Regions from separate parts of the Homo sapiens genome. Here region 2 is linked to region 1. Evidence: promoter capture Hi-C in 16 types of primary human blood cells and fetal thymus (Javierre and others, 2016). All regions are on one chromosome and are shown on one strand. The core of a region is centred on a gene start or on the middle of the fragment in contact, and the rest is flanking DNA. Distances in the headings are between cores, read along the strand shown.

The links. Contacts are between HindIII fragments. The CHiCAGO score rates a contact against its expected background, and 5 or more counts as called.
Region 2: a contact is called between the fragment with the promoter of NUDT19 here and the fragment with the promoter of WDR88 in region 1, in 2 of 17 cell types (total CD4 T cells and erythroblasts). The highest score is 7.1, in total CD4 T cells.

The regions. Positions count from the first base shown.
Region 1 is chr19:33,127,242-33,133,364 of GRCh38, forward strand. WDR88 (WD repeat domain 88) reads left to right here and starts at 4,873. Exons shown (of 11, transcript NM_173479.4): 1 at 4,873-5,204. The coding sequence starts at 4,929. It overlaps GPATCH1 (G-patch domain containing 1), which reads left to right. Exons shown (of 20, transcript NM_018025.3): 20 at 2,889-3,301. The coding sequence ends at 2,919. RefSeq lists enhancers at 72-241, 4,710-4,879 and a silencer at 1,808-1,952. The HindIII fragment of the contact is 21,697 bases long and covers 1-6,123 here.
Region 2 is chr19:32,688,001-32,694,697 of GRCh38, forward strand. NUDT19 (nudix hydrolase 19) reads left to right here and starts at 3,821. Exons shown (of 3, transcript NM_001105570.2): 1 at 3,821-4,674. The coding sequence starts at 3,961. It overlaps NUDT19-DT (NUDT19 divergent transcript), which reads right to left and starts at 4,296. Exons shown (of 2, transcript NR_186320.1): 1 at 3,363-4,296. It overlaps LOC124904690 (a long non-coding RNA gene), which reads right to left. Exons shown (of 2, transcript XR_007067226.1): 2 at 4,965-6,094. RefSeq lists a silencer at 3,784-4,193. The HindIII fragment of the contact is 6,189 bases long and covers 3,649-6,697 here.

The DNA.
Region 1 (6,123 bases), core at 3,623-6,122:
GGCGCGGTGGCTCATGCCTGTAATCCCAGCACTTTGGGAGGCCGAGGCGGGTGGATCACAAGGTCAGGAGCTCGAGACCATCCTGGCTAACACAGAGAAACCCCGTCTCTACTAAAAATACAAAAATTAGCTGGGCGTGGAGCGTGTGCCTGTAGTTCCAGCTGCTGGGGAGGCTGAGGCAGGAGAATGGCGTCAACCTGGGAGGCGGAGCTTGCAGTGAGCCGAGATTGTGCCACTGCCCTCCAGCCTGGGCGACAGAGCGAGACTCTTGTCTCAATAAAAAAAAAAAAAAAAAGAAAAGAAAATTCAGACCTTACAGCCAATGCTTAAAGGAGCCCTGACTAGTTCTCCAAACCTCTACTTTCTCCACAGTAACTTCTGCCATCAGTTTCATATGTAACCTTTAAGACCTTTTTTGTGCAACCACACACACACACATACACACTCACGTACATGGATGCACATACACATTGTTTGTTTCTTTTTTAGACGAGTCTCGTTCTGTCACCCAGGCTGGAGTGCAGTGGTGCGATCTTGGCTCAGTGCAACCTCTGCCTCCCGGGTTCAAGCAGTTCTCCTACCTCAGCCTCCCAAGCAACTGGGATTACAGGCACCCGCCCCCACACCCAGCTAATTTTTGTATTTTGTATTTTTTTAGTAGAGACAGTGTTTCGTCATGTTGGCCAGGCTGGTCTCAAACTCCTGACCTCAGGTGATACACCCACCTTGGCCTCTGAGTGCCAGGATTACAGGTGTGAACCACCATGCCTGGCCTATATACAGATTTTTGTGCACATTTTAAATATAAGTAATATAATTTTATATAGCATATATTTATAGGGTATGAATTTTATTTTATTTTTTGAGACAGAGTCTCGCTCTGTGACCCAGGCTGGAGTGCAGTGGCCTGATCACAGCTCACTGTAAACTCTGCCTCTCCGGCTCAAGGGATCCTCCCACCTCAGCCTTCAGAGTAGCTGGGACTGTAAGTGTGCACCACCACACCCAGCTAATTTTTTTAAAAAATCATTTTTTTTGAGACAGAGTCTTGCTCTGTCACCCAAGCTGGAGTGCAGTGGCGCGATCTTGGCTCACTGCAAGCTCCACCTCCTGGGTTCACGCCATTCTCCTGCCTCAGCCTCCTGAGTAGCTGGGACTACAGGTACCCGCCACCACGTCCAGCTAATTTTTTGTATATTTAGTAGAGACGGGGTTTCACCGTGTTAGCCAGGATGGTCTCAATCTCCTGACCTGGTGATCCGCCTGCCTTGGCCTCCCAAAGTGCCGGGATTACAGGCGTGAGCCACCACACCCGGCCTAAAAAAATCTTTTTTGTAGAGATGGGATCTCCTATGTTGCCCAAACTGGTCTCGAACTCCTGGCCTCAAGTGATCCTCCTGCCTCAGCCTCAGGCGTGAGCCGCTGCGCAGGCCTGCTCTTGCCAGTTTTATCTTTATTGGGAAGAAGGGTGTTGTGTGAATTCTTTGAGTGTCTGGCTTCTGAGATTCCTTCAGATGATGGTAGGCAGCAGTGAGGGGCTTGTAGTCATTGCTGTGGAAGATTCCTTCTTGTGAGCACACCACGGTATGTTTATCTCTTCTGTTGTGTGGATACTGGGTTTTTTACTTTGAGTCTGTGGAGCAGGGATTTTCAGCCAGTGTGACCCAGCTCTGTTTCAAATAGAACTGCCACGAACATTCCTATATGTATGAAATTCAGATTTAGGCCAGGTGCGGTATCTCACGTCTGTAATCCCAGCACTCTGGGAGGCCGAGGCAGGCGGATCATGAGGTCAGGAAATCGAGACTATCCTGGTTAACACAATGAAACCCCAAACCCCATCTCTACTAAAAAAACTAGCCAGGCGTGGTGGCACGTGCCTGTAGTCCCAGCTACTCAGGAGGTGGAGGCAGGAGAATCGCTTGAACCTGGGAGGTGGAGGTTGCAGTGAACCGAGATCGCGCCACTGTACTCCAGCCTGGGTGACAGAGACTCTGTCTCAAAAAAAAAAAAAGAAAAGAAATTCAGATTTAAGACTGACAACTTGGGGGCTGGGCATGGTGGCTCATGCCTGTAATCCCAATACCTTGGGAGGTCAAGATGGGAGGATCGCTTGAGCCCAGGAGTTCAAGACCAGCTCGGGTAATATAGGGAGACCCTGTCTCTATAAAAAAATTAAAAAAAAAAAAAAGACAACTTGGATGCTTTGGGCCCTGGAGTGAATGTATTTTAGTTCCTTCCCAAGGGTCATGCAACGGATGCGGTAGGTGAGTGAAACTGAGATTAAAAATTGCTTGTATTCTCAAGGCTAAATAAGACTAGGGAAAAAAGTTGCTTTTATAAGTGGTCTTAATACGAGGTGTGGGTGAGTGAGTCTCTGTGTGTTTTCAGGGTAATAGAAGAAGCATTTTAAGAACACAGATTGGCCGGGTACGGTGGCTCATGCCTGTAATCCCAGCACTTTGGGAGGCCGAGGCGGGCAGATCACAGTCAGGAGTTCGAAACAAGCCTGGCCAACATGGTGAAACCCCATCTGTACTAAAAATACAAAAATTAGCTGGGTATGGTGGCATGTGCCTGTAATCCCAGCTACTCTGGAGGCTGAGGCAGGAGACTTGCTTAAACCTGGGAGGCGGAGGTTGCAGTGAGCTGAGATCGCACCACTGCGCTCCAGCCTGGGCGACAAAAGTGAGACTCCATCTCGGGGGAAAAAAAAAAAAAAGCACAGATTAGGCAGTACTTCATTGTGGGTTATTGTGAGTGCATTTTGTAGGTGCAGACATGCTGCTGTGATATGGGGAGGCCTGGCATTCTCAGCCTCCACGGAGCTGTTTGGTTTTTCACTTTAGCTAACTTTCCATTTCTCTCTTTTCTGTTTTCTTTTCCAGGCTGAAAAGTCTTCCACTAAGAAGGCAGTAATTGAATGCTGCCCTGGCTCGTCCTAGAATCATTTCTCCTCCATGATGGAAGCCCAGTGATTGTTCAGTTAACGCATTGTACAGAGTGTATTTATATGTAAATTCCTGCTGTAAAATAATTTTTAAAACCTTGACATTTCAAAGACTGCCTTGAAAGGTCGCAGAAATTGATTTCTATTTTTAATTTCAGTTAGTATCGGGGGAAAAAAATCCAGACTGAACAGTTTAATTAAAGTGGAATTTTTCTATTTTCTTCTTGATTTTTAAAAAATTTCCTGGGACGTTAAAAAAGAAGTTAAAAGTGAAGGCTTCTCTCTGGTTTTGTGATGAAGACAGCCTGGACTCACTGAAGGACAAGCGTGTGAGAAGGGGCGGTTGCGGCCCCTCCTGCCGTTTTTTGGGAGTGAAGCTCTTCCCTCTCTGGGTGGCTGGGTTACTGTTGGTGCCCAGGAAGCCCCATGGGAGGGCAGAGCCAGGGCCTGGCAGGGGGCCTCAGCCTCTCAGGGTAGATGTCACTAAAGTGTCTGAGACAGGCAGGGAAACCAGGCAGGAGAATGTGCACCCACAGCCTGGGTTACACGGCTGCAGCTCCCTGCTCTGAGGCCACCTCATGTGTACCAAGGAGACCTTTTTGAAAAATAAAGTGCAGACCAGGTGTGATGGCTAATGCCTGTAATCCCAGAGCTTTGGGAGGCCGAGGCGGGAGGATTGCTTGAGCCCAGGAATTCCAGACCAGCCTGGGCCACATAGAGACCCCTGTCTCCACAAAAAATAAAGTATTGAGCATTTGTATTTTACATTATGAAAGTAGCATCATAGATCACAACAATTTTAAAAGCAGAAAGAAGGAAGAGGCCGGGTGCGGTGGCCCATGCTTGTAATCCCAGCACTTTGGGAGGCCGAGGCCAGCGGATCACTTGAGGCCAGGAGTTCAAAAACAGCCTGGCCAACATGGCGAAACCTTGTCTCTACTAAAAATACAAAAAAATTAGCCAGGTCTGGTGAGCATACACCTGTAATCCCAGCTGTGTGGGAGGCTGAGGCACGAGAATCCTTTGAACCCTGGAGGTGGAGGTTGCAGTGAGCCGAAATTGCGCTACTGCAATCCAGCCTGGGTGACAGACTCTTGTCTCCACCAAAAAAAAAAAAAAAAAAAAAGAAGGAAGAAAATCACTTTTAGTTTTATCATCCAAAGATGACACCCTTCTTCAATATTTTGAATAATTCCACCCTGTCCTTTTCTAGCTATGGGGCTGTTATCTGACTGGTGGTAGCATTTTATTCCCTGTCACTGTTGTTGGGGTTGTGACAGATATTTCCCTCATCTATTATAAATGTTGTAAACCCACCCCTAATAACTGCATCTTATTTCATGCAGGGGCTACCCCATAACTTACTGACCTTTTCTGTTTTGTCATGAAGTGGGTTGGCCAGGAGCTGTACCCAGGCAGAGGACATGAAGAAATTGCCCTGTGACAGGAGCCAGGGAAACCACAGCGGAGGGCTGGAGGCTGGGGTGCTGGTTTTGCTGGCTCGGCCTGGTTCCCAGAATGCAAAGCCCATTTTTCTTTTTTTTGCAACCTCCACCTCCTGGGTTCAAGCCATTCCCCTGCCTCAGCCTCCCATGTAGCTGGAACTACAGGCGCACGCCCCCATGCCTGGCTAATTTTTGTTATTATTTTTTTTAAGTAAAGATGGGGTTTCACTAAACCTGTTGGCCAGGCTGGTCTCCAACTCCTGACCTCAGGTAATCCGCCCGCCTCGGCCTCCCAAAGTGCCGGGATTACAGGCGTGAGCCACCGCGCCCGGCTGCAAAGCCCATTTTTCTATAGGTAACCTGTGCTGCGCGGGGTGGCACTAGTTTTCACCCAGCGGGCGAGGAGGCAGCGAAGTCGCGGGCCCAGCGTAGCGCGCGCCTCCGAAGGGCTTGGTGCGGGCGCGGGCGCGGGCGCGCGGCGCCACCGTTCCCATCCAGGCTTGTCGGCGGCCACCGGCGGACCGGGCTTCGAGATGGCCTCCCCGCCGCGGTGCTCCCCGACAGCCCATGACAGGGAATGCAAGTTGCCGCCACCCTCCGCCCCCGCCAGCGAGTATTGTCCCGGCAAGCTGTCCTGGGGGACCATGGCGAGGGCCTTAGGCCGCTTCAAGCTGTCGATCCCGCACACGCACCTGCTGGCCACCCTCGACCCCCTGGCCTTGGACAGGGAACCACCACCGCATCTGTTGCCTGAGAAGCACCAGGTGCCGGAGAAATTGATCTGGGGCGACCAGGACCCTCTCTCCAAGGTCAGAACCGCCGCTGGGGTGAGGGGGCACTGGCCTGTTCCCCACACGGGAGGAAGGCGCTCGAGCTGTCGGGGGACCCATGGAAAACCCACCTGGCTTCACCAGGACCCCCAGCGAGGCCCTAGGCCCATTTCCCCATCTGTGGTACATCTGTGGGCAAAGGTCAGACCCACCTGAGCAGGGCGTGCTGGGGATGCCGGCGGGGGCTCCCCGCACTGCCACCTGCTGGGGAACCAGGACTCTTCGCTGGGAGGAGGCTCTGCCCCACCATGTGACCCCATCTAGACCTTGGAGTCTCCGTAGGTAGGCCCACCCACAGTGATGCTCCTAATTGCAGCCCAAGGGTCGGTGGCTCAGCTCTCCCCGTCCAGGAGATACAGTTAGCGTCAGAAGAAACGGGAAACTCAGAATAATAATAACAACAATGAATTGGGCCAGGCAAGGTGGCTCACACCTGTAATCCCAGCCCTTTGGGAGGCCCAGGTGGGAGGATCACTTGAGCCCAGGAGTTTGAGACCAGCCTGGGCAACATAGTGAGAGGTCGTCTCTACAAGAAATAAACTTAGCCCAGTGTGATGGGGCGCACCTGTGGTCCCAGCCACTTGAAAGGCTGAGGCAAGAGGATCCCTTGAACCCAGGAGTTTAAGGCTGCAGTGAGCTATGATTGTGCCACTGCACTCCAGCCTGGGCAACAGAGCGAGACTGTCTCCAGAATAAATAAATAAATAAATAAATAAATAAATAAATAAATATAGAGAGAGAGAGAGAAAGAAAGAAAGAAAAAGAAAAAGAAAGAAAGAAGGAGAAAGAAAGAAAAACTGGCTGGGTGCAGTGGCTCATGTCTGTAATCCCAGCACTTTGGGAAGCCGAGATGAGCAGATCACTTGAGGTCAAGGGTTCGAGACCAGCCTGGCTAACA
Region 2 (6,697 bases), core at 2,571-5,070, 440 kb before region 1:
AAAAAAAATGAATAACCACCTAAAAATAATTTCTCAGAATGATTTTTAAAAAGGTTTTTTTTCTTTTTTCTTTTCTTTTCTTTTTTTTTTTTTTTGAGATGGAGTCTAAGTCTGTCGCCCAGGATGGAGTGCAGTGGTATGATCTTGGCTCACTGCAACCTCTGCCACCTGGGTTCAAGCAATTCTTCTGCGCCACCATACCCAGCTAATTTTTGTATTTTTAGTAGAGACGGGGTTTCACCCTGTTGACCAGGCTGGGCTCAACTCCTGACCTCAGGTGATCCACACATCTTGGCCTCCCAAAGTATTGGGATTGCCAGGTATGAGCCACTGTGCCCAGCCTGAAGTGTAACTTTTGAGGCTAAGTCATAAAAGGCATCATGGCTTCTTCCTCTCTCATGGATCATTCTTTCTGGGAGAAGTTTACCCACCAAGTCCTGAAGACATTGAAGCAACCCTATGGAAAGATCCATGCGGTAAGGAACTAGGCCCCCTGCCAACAGCCATGTGAGTGAGCCATTGAGGAAGTGGATCTCCCAGTGCTGGACAAGCCCTGGCTGACATGCTGATCACAGCCTCATGGGAGATACTGAGTTAGGATCACCACATGGAGGTGGTCCCTAATCCCTGATCAACAGAAAAGGTGGGATAATCAATGTCCATTGTTTTTTGTTTGTTTTTCTTGTTTTTTTTGTTTTGTTTTGCTTTTGATTTTGAAACAGAGTCTTGCTCTCTCACCTAGGCTGCAGTGCAGTAGCACTATCTCAGCTCACTGCAACCTCTGCCTCCCGGGTTCAAGCGATTCTCCTGCCTCAGCCTCCCGAGTAGCTGGGATTACAGGTGCCCACGACCACACCCAGCTAATTTTTATTTTTATTTTTTGTATTTTTAGTAGAGACGGGGTCTCACCATGTTGGCCAGGCTGGCCTCAAACTTGTGACCTCAGGTGATCCACCCACCTCGGCCTCCCAAAGTGCTGGGATTACAGGTGTGAGCCACTGTGCCCCATCTTTTTTTTTCTTTTGAGGCAGAGTCTTGCTCTGTCACCCAGGTCGGAGTGCAGTGGCGTGATCATGGCTCACTGCAGCCTCCAACTCCTGGGCCCAAGCGATCCTCCCATCTCAGCCTCTTGAGTAGCTGGGACTACAGGCATGTGATACCACACCCAGCTAATTTTCTTTTTCTTTTTTTTTTTTTTGAGACGGAGTCTCACTCTGTCACCCAGGCTGGAGTGCAGTGGCGCAATCTCAGCTCACTGCAAGCTCTGCCTCCCGGGTTCTTGCCATTCTCCTGCCTCAGCCTCCTGAGTAGCTGGGACTACAGGCGCCTGCCACCACACCCGGCTAATTTTTTGTATTTTTAGTAGAGATGGGGTTTCACCGTGTTAGCCAGGATGGTCTCGATCTCCTGACCTGTGATCCGCCCACCTTGGCCTCCCAAAGTGCTGTGATTATAGGCGTGAGCCACTGCACCTCCCCACTAATTTTCTTTTAAGAGGAGGGGTCTCACTGTGTTTCCCAGGCTGGTCTTGAATTCCTGGCCTCAAGTTATCCTCCCGCCTCGCCCTCCCTAAGTGTTAGGGTTACAGACATTACCCACCATGCCTGGACAATAAGTGTTTATTGATTTAATCCACCAAGTTTTTGACTAATTTGTTAACAGCATTAGGTAAATAACATATCCACAAATTATCCTGTGAGCAGAGCACTTTAGATATGAATATGATATCTGTATCTCTTTGAATGCTCATGGATAGTTCTTTGCTTCTGTATCATTTCTTGGCTACAGTTCAGATAACTGAGTTTATATGACATGATCTCTGAATCCATAAACTGTAATTGTGTCATCTCAGTGCCCCAAATATGACAGTCATGGCAGTGTGCACATTTTGGACACTGTTCTGTGTTGGTTAAGGTCCAGTTTCTGCCAGGTGTGGTGGCTCACACCTGTAATCCCAGCACTTTGGGAGGCTGAGGTAGGCAGATCACTTGAGGTCAGGCGTTAGAGACCAGCCTCACCAACATGATGAAACCTTGTCTCTGCTAAAAATACAAAAATTAGTCAGGCGTAGTAGCATGCGCCTGCAATCCCAGCTACTCCAGAGGCTGAGGCAGGAGAATTGCTTGAACCCGAGAGGCAGATATTGCAGTAAGCCGAGATCGCACCACTGCACTCCAGCCTGGTGAGAGCGCCAGACTCCCTCTCAAAAAAAAAAAAGGTTCAGTTTCTGTTGTTTTGCTATGCACCCAGGACCAGGACTTGGTCATCTCACTCATGAGTAACCAGCTTCTGTGAAAACCAGCTGATGTTGAAACACACACATTCACCTACAAAACCACGGTGTTATTTTACAGCAAAGGGAGTAGTATGTTCTTAAGACCCTTAATCCCTCCATAAATGGTTAGTCATCTGTAAAATAGTGGTAACTGTTTCCACTTCATGGGGTTTTGTAAGAATTACACAACTAATACTAATAAAGTTCCTAGTGCCTCACACACTGTACCCAGTAACTACTAATATTATTATCCCCTAGGATTATTATTACTCCTAGTATTGAAGACATGTTACTTTAATCACCTGAGTGCCTTTCTCTCCATTGCTCTGTATTTTTATTTTATTTATTTATTTATTTTTTTGAGACAGAGTCTCGCTCTGTCACCCATGCCGGAATGCAGTGGCAGGATCTTGGCTCACAGCAACCTCCACCCAGATTCAAGTGATTCTCCTGCCTCAGCCTCCTGAGTAGCTGCAACTATAGGCGCGGGCCGCCACACCCAGCTAATTTTTGTATTTTTAGTAGAGGCGGGGTTTTGCCATGTTGGCCATGCTGGTCTTGAAGTCCTGGCCTCAGGTGATCCGACCACCTCGGCCTCCCAAAGTGCTGGGATTACAGGTGTAAGCCACAGCGCCTGGCCAGAGACCAGGTCTCTTCAAACAAAAAAACAAACAAAACCCCTAAATATTGACAATGTCATCTGTGGATTCTACCCAGGAAATAACCCACATTAAAATGATGGTTTGTGAGGGTCGGCAGGGGTATAGTGTATTTCATCCAAAAACATAACAAATGTGTGATCCAATTATAATAGCAATTATGGGAAAAGCTGTCGGTGACTGATAAGGAGTTATAAAAGAAAAGACTCAAATTTACACAGGCTTTTCAAAAGATCATAATCCTGCTATTGGAGGTGGAAGTCTTCTAGACACTAACAAGGTGGAGAGAAATCTCCATGTGGAGGCCCAGATTAAACATCTCCCATCAAAGTGGAACTCGTCAAATGTCCTAAGACACCTAAGGCCGTCCCCAGGCGCCCTGACAATAAAAGGTAACCAGAACACGAGAGAAATTACTCTGGGAGTACCTTTCACATTCAAGGTGTGCAGTAGGAAATTTATAAATTGGCATCTGGCTCGTCCATTCATTTCTCATTGGTGTGGTTCACGTGTGCTTGCAAAGGTCAGACTTCTGCCCTTCGAATGTCCTCTCTCCCTCTCCCACAGAAAACACCCACATGTGGGTCCTTGTTTAAAGCAGAAAGTCCTAGTCCTTAGCTTTTAGTGAGGTGGATGTCATCAGGCCTGGGTTGGCATCCTGTTTTTTACCATGGCAAGTCATATGCGCCCTTAAGCATTCCTGCTTTTGGTCCAAGCTTCCTGCGTGGGAATACTGCGGTCCTCCTTTCAGGCAGCTGTGAATGACAAACGGTCGCTGGCTGCCGTGACACCCATTGTCCCGCGAGAGTGCCCTAGCTGGGCCCCAGTGCACTCGAGGCGGTCCCTGCTCGGGTGCCCCTCCCACAGGCAGGCGCCGTTGCCGACCAAACGCCCAGGTTCACCCAACGCCAGAGGCTCGTCCTCAATTCCCGCGAGGCCCCCGGAGGTGCTGGGGTCCCTGCAGGGCCGGGCCACCTGCCGTGGAGCTCAGGCCGCGCCAGAATCGGATCCGGGAAGCTGCGCGCCATGAGCAGCTCCCTGCGGCCGGGCCCCAGCCGCTGGCGGCGGGCGGCCAGCATCGTCCTGGCGGCTGGCTGGTCGCGCCCGGAGACCGCCACCCCGCCGTCGCGCCCGCCGCCGGCCGAGGGCTTCCGGCTGCTGCTGCTGCAGCGCTCCCCGCACCAAGGCTTCATGCCGGGCGCGCACGTCTTCTCCGGCGGAGTGCTGGATGCGGCCGACCGCTCGGCGGACTGGCTGGGCCTCTTCGCGCCGCACCACGGGCCGCCGCGCTTCGGCCTGGGCCCGGCGCCATTCAGCCGCACCGCTTTCCCGTCGCTGCCCGACACCGATGACCACAAGACCGACAACACTGGGACGCTGCCTGAGGACGTAGCCTTCCGCATCTGCGCCGTGCGGGAGGCCTTTGAGGAGGCGGGCGTGCTGCTGCTGCGGCCCAGGACTTCCCCACCAGGCCCAGCACCCGGGCCTGGCCTCGCCCTGGAGCCACCGCCGGGCCTGGCCTCCTGGCGCGACCGCGTGCGCCAGGACCCGCGCCACTTCCTGCGGCTGTGCGCCCACCTCGACTGCACACCCGACATCTGGGCGCTGCACAACTGGAGCGCCTGGCTCACCCCTTTCTTGCGGGGCACCACTCGCCGCTTTGACACGGCCTTCTTCCTGTGCTGCCTGCGCGAGCCGCCGCCCGTCTACCCCGACTTGGCGGAGGTGGTGGGCTACCAGGTAAGGCCTGCTCAGGGCCTTGCTGCGGACCGCCAGGACGTGAGAGGGAGGACCCCTCCCAGCGGCCCAGGCCCCCAAGGGACCCCCGCATAGGCCAAGCCCAGAGAGATTAAGCAGCAAGGAACGCTTAGACGGGCTGGAAACTCTCACCCCTGTAGACCAAAGCCATGCTCTTGGTGAAGTGCTCTCTGCTTTCCTAGGCTTTGGGGTCTCAAGGCCTGGAGCCTGTCTCTCCACGTGGTTCCTCCAGCGTGGCCACTGTGTAAGCACTTGTACATGTGTAGACATAGTACATCTCCACAGCCGTTTAATTTGGTTTTCTTGGAGAACAGACTTAATATGATCCAGTCTTCCTATTTTTATTTATTTTTGGTACAGATGGGGGTCTTGTCTCTCTGTGTTGCACACCCAGGCTCGTCTCCAGCTCCTGGTGTGTCCAGAATTGGTTCCTTCCAGTGGGTTCTTGGTCTCGCTGACTTTAAGAATAAAGCCGCGGACCCTCGAAGTGAGTGTTACAGTTCTTAAAGATGGTGTGTCCAGTTTCTTCCTTCAGATGTTCAGATGTGTCTGGAGTTTCTTCCTTCTGGTAGGTTCGTGGTCTCGCTGACTTCAGGATTGAAGCCGCAGACCTTCGCAGTGAGTGTTACAGCTCTTAAAGGTGGTGCGTCAGGAGTTGTTTGTTCCTCTTGGTGGGTTTGTGGTCTCGCTGGCTTCAGGAGCGAAGCTGCAGACATTTGTGGTCAGTGTTACAGCTTATAAAGGTAGTGCGGACCCAAGGAGTGAGCAGCAGCAAGATTTATTGCAAAGAGCAAAAGAACAAACCTCCCACAGCGGAAGGGGATCAGAGCAGGTTGGGTGCTGGTGGCTGGGTGGCCAGCTTTTATTCCCTTATTTGGCCCTGCCCATGTCCTGCTGATTGGTCCATTTTGCAGAGTGCTGATTGGTCCATTTTTACAGAGTGCGGATTGGTGCGTTTACAAATCTTTAGCTAGACAGAGCACTGATTGGTGCGTTTTTACATAGTACTGATTGGTGCATTTACAAACCTTTAGCTAGACACAGAGCACTGATTGGTGCGTTTTTACAGAGTGCTGATTGGTGCATTTACAAATCTTTAGCTAGACAGAAAAGTTCTCCAAGTCCCCACTGGACCCAGGAAGTCCAGGGGCTTCACCTCTCAATCCCGCCTCTAAACAGGGCACCCCATCTGCTGTTGGGAATTGGGCAATGACTGCTCTAGCTACTTCCTGCTGGACAGGGGCAAAGAAGGGGCCCTGCAGTTGTAGTGTCCTCCAGAGGGGAACTCTCTAGGCCAGTGAAAGGGCCAGTGGGTCGGTCCAGGGGTCCTCGGTAGAAGTTGTTAGTTGAGCTCATTTGGGTTTCCGTTTGTAAGACCATCTGTAGTTTGATGGCCTTGATTCTAGAGGAAACAAATTTGACAAGGAGGTTAAAAATACAGGGCCCGAAGGCGAGTAATAGTAAAACGGCTGTCACAGGATGTAGAAAGGGGAGAAGCCATGTTGCCCAACTCCAGAGGTTGGTATAAGAGTTTGAAAGGCGTTGTCTGATTTCAGAAACCTTTTCCTGTAAATGCCGGGCGGCATCTTGCACTATCCCTGACTTGTTAGTGTAAAAACAACACTCTTCCCCTAAGGTGCAAAGTCCTCCTTTCTCAGCAGTGAGGAGGTCTAGGCCTCGGGGGTTTTGGAGAGTCACTGCTGCCAGAGTCTATTTGGGATTGTAGTTACTATCCTTACTGAATAGATTTTGTTATTTCTTGCAAACTGTCTGAGAAATACTTTGAGAGTGTGTGGTAGTAAGATAATGAAGTAGATAAACTGGCTATTCCGGTTCCTGTAGCAGTGGCCATTTCTAGCCCTATAAGTAGGGGTATCAGTTGTATGGCCCTGTGCTGATGGACTTGAGCTTTGAGGGGCACTGATAGGGTCTGATGTCCATAAGATTAGAAGTTAGGATAATATGTGTTACACTGTTAACTTTTAGCAAACTTTACTTTTGTTGA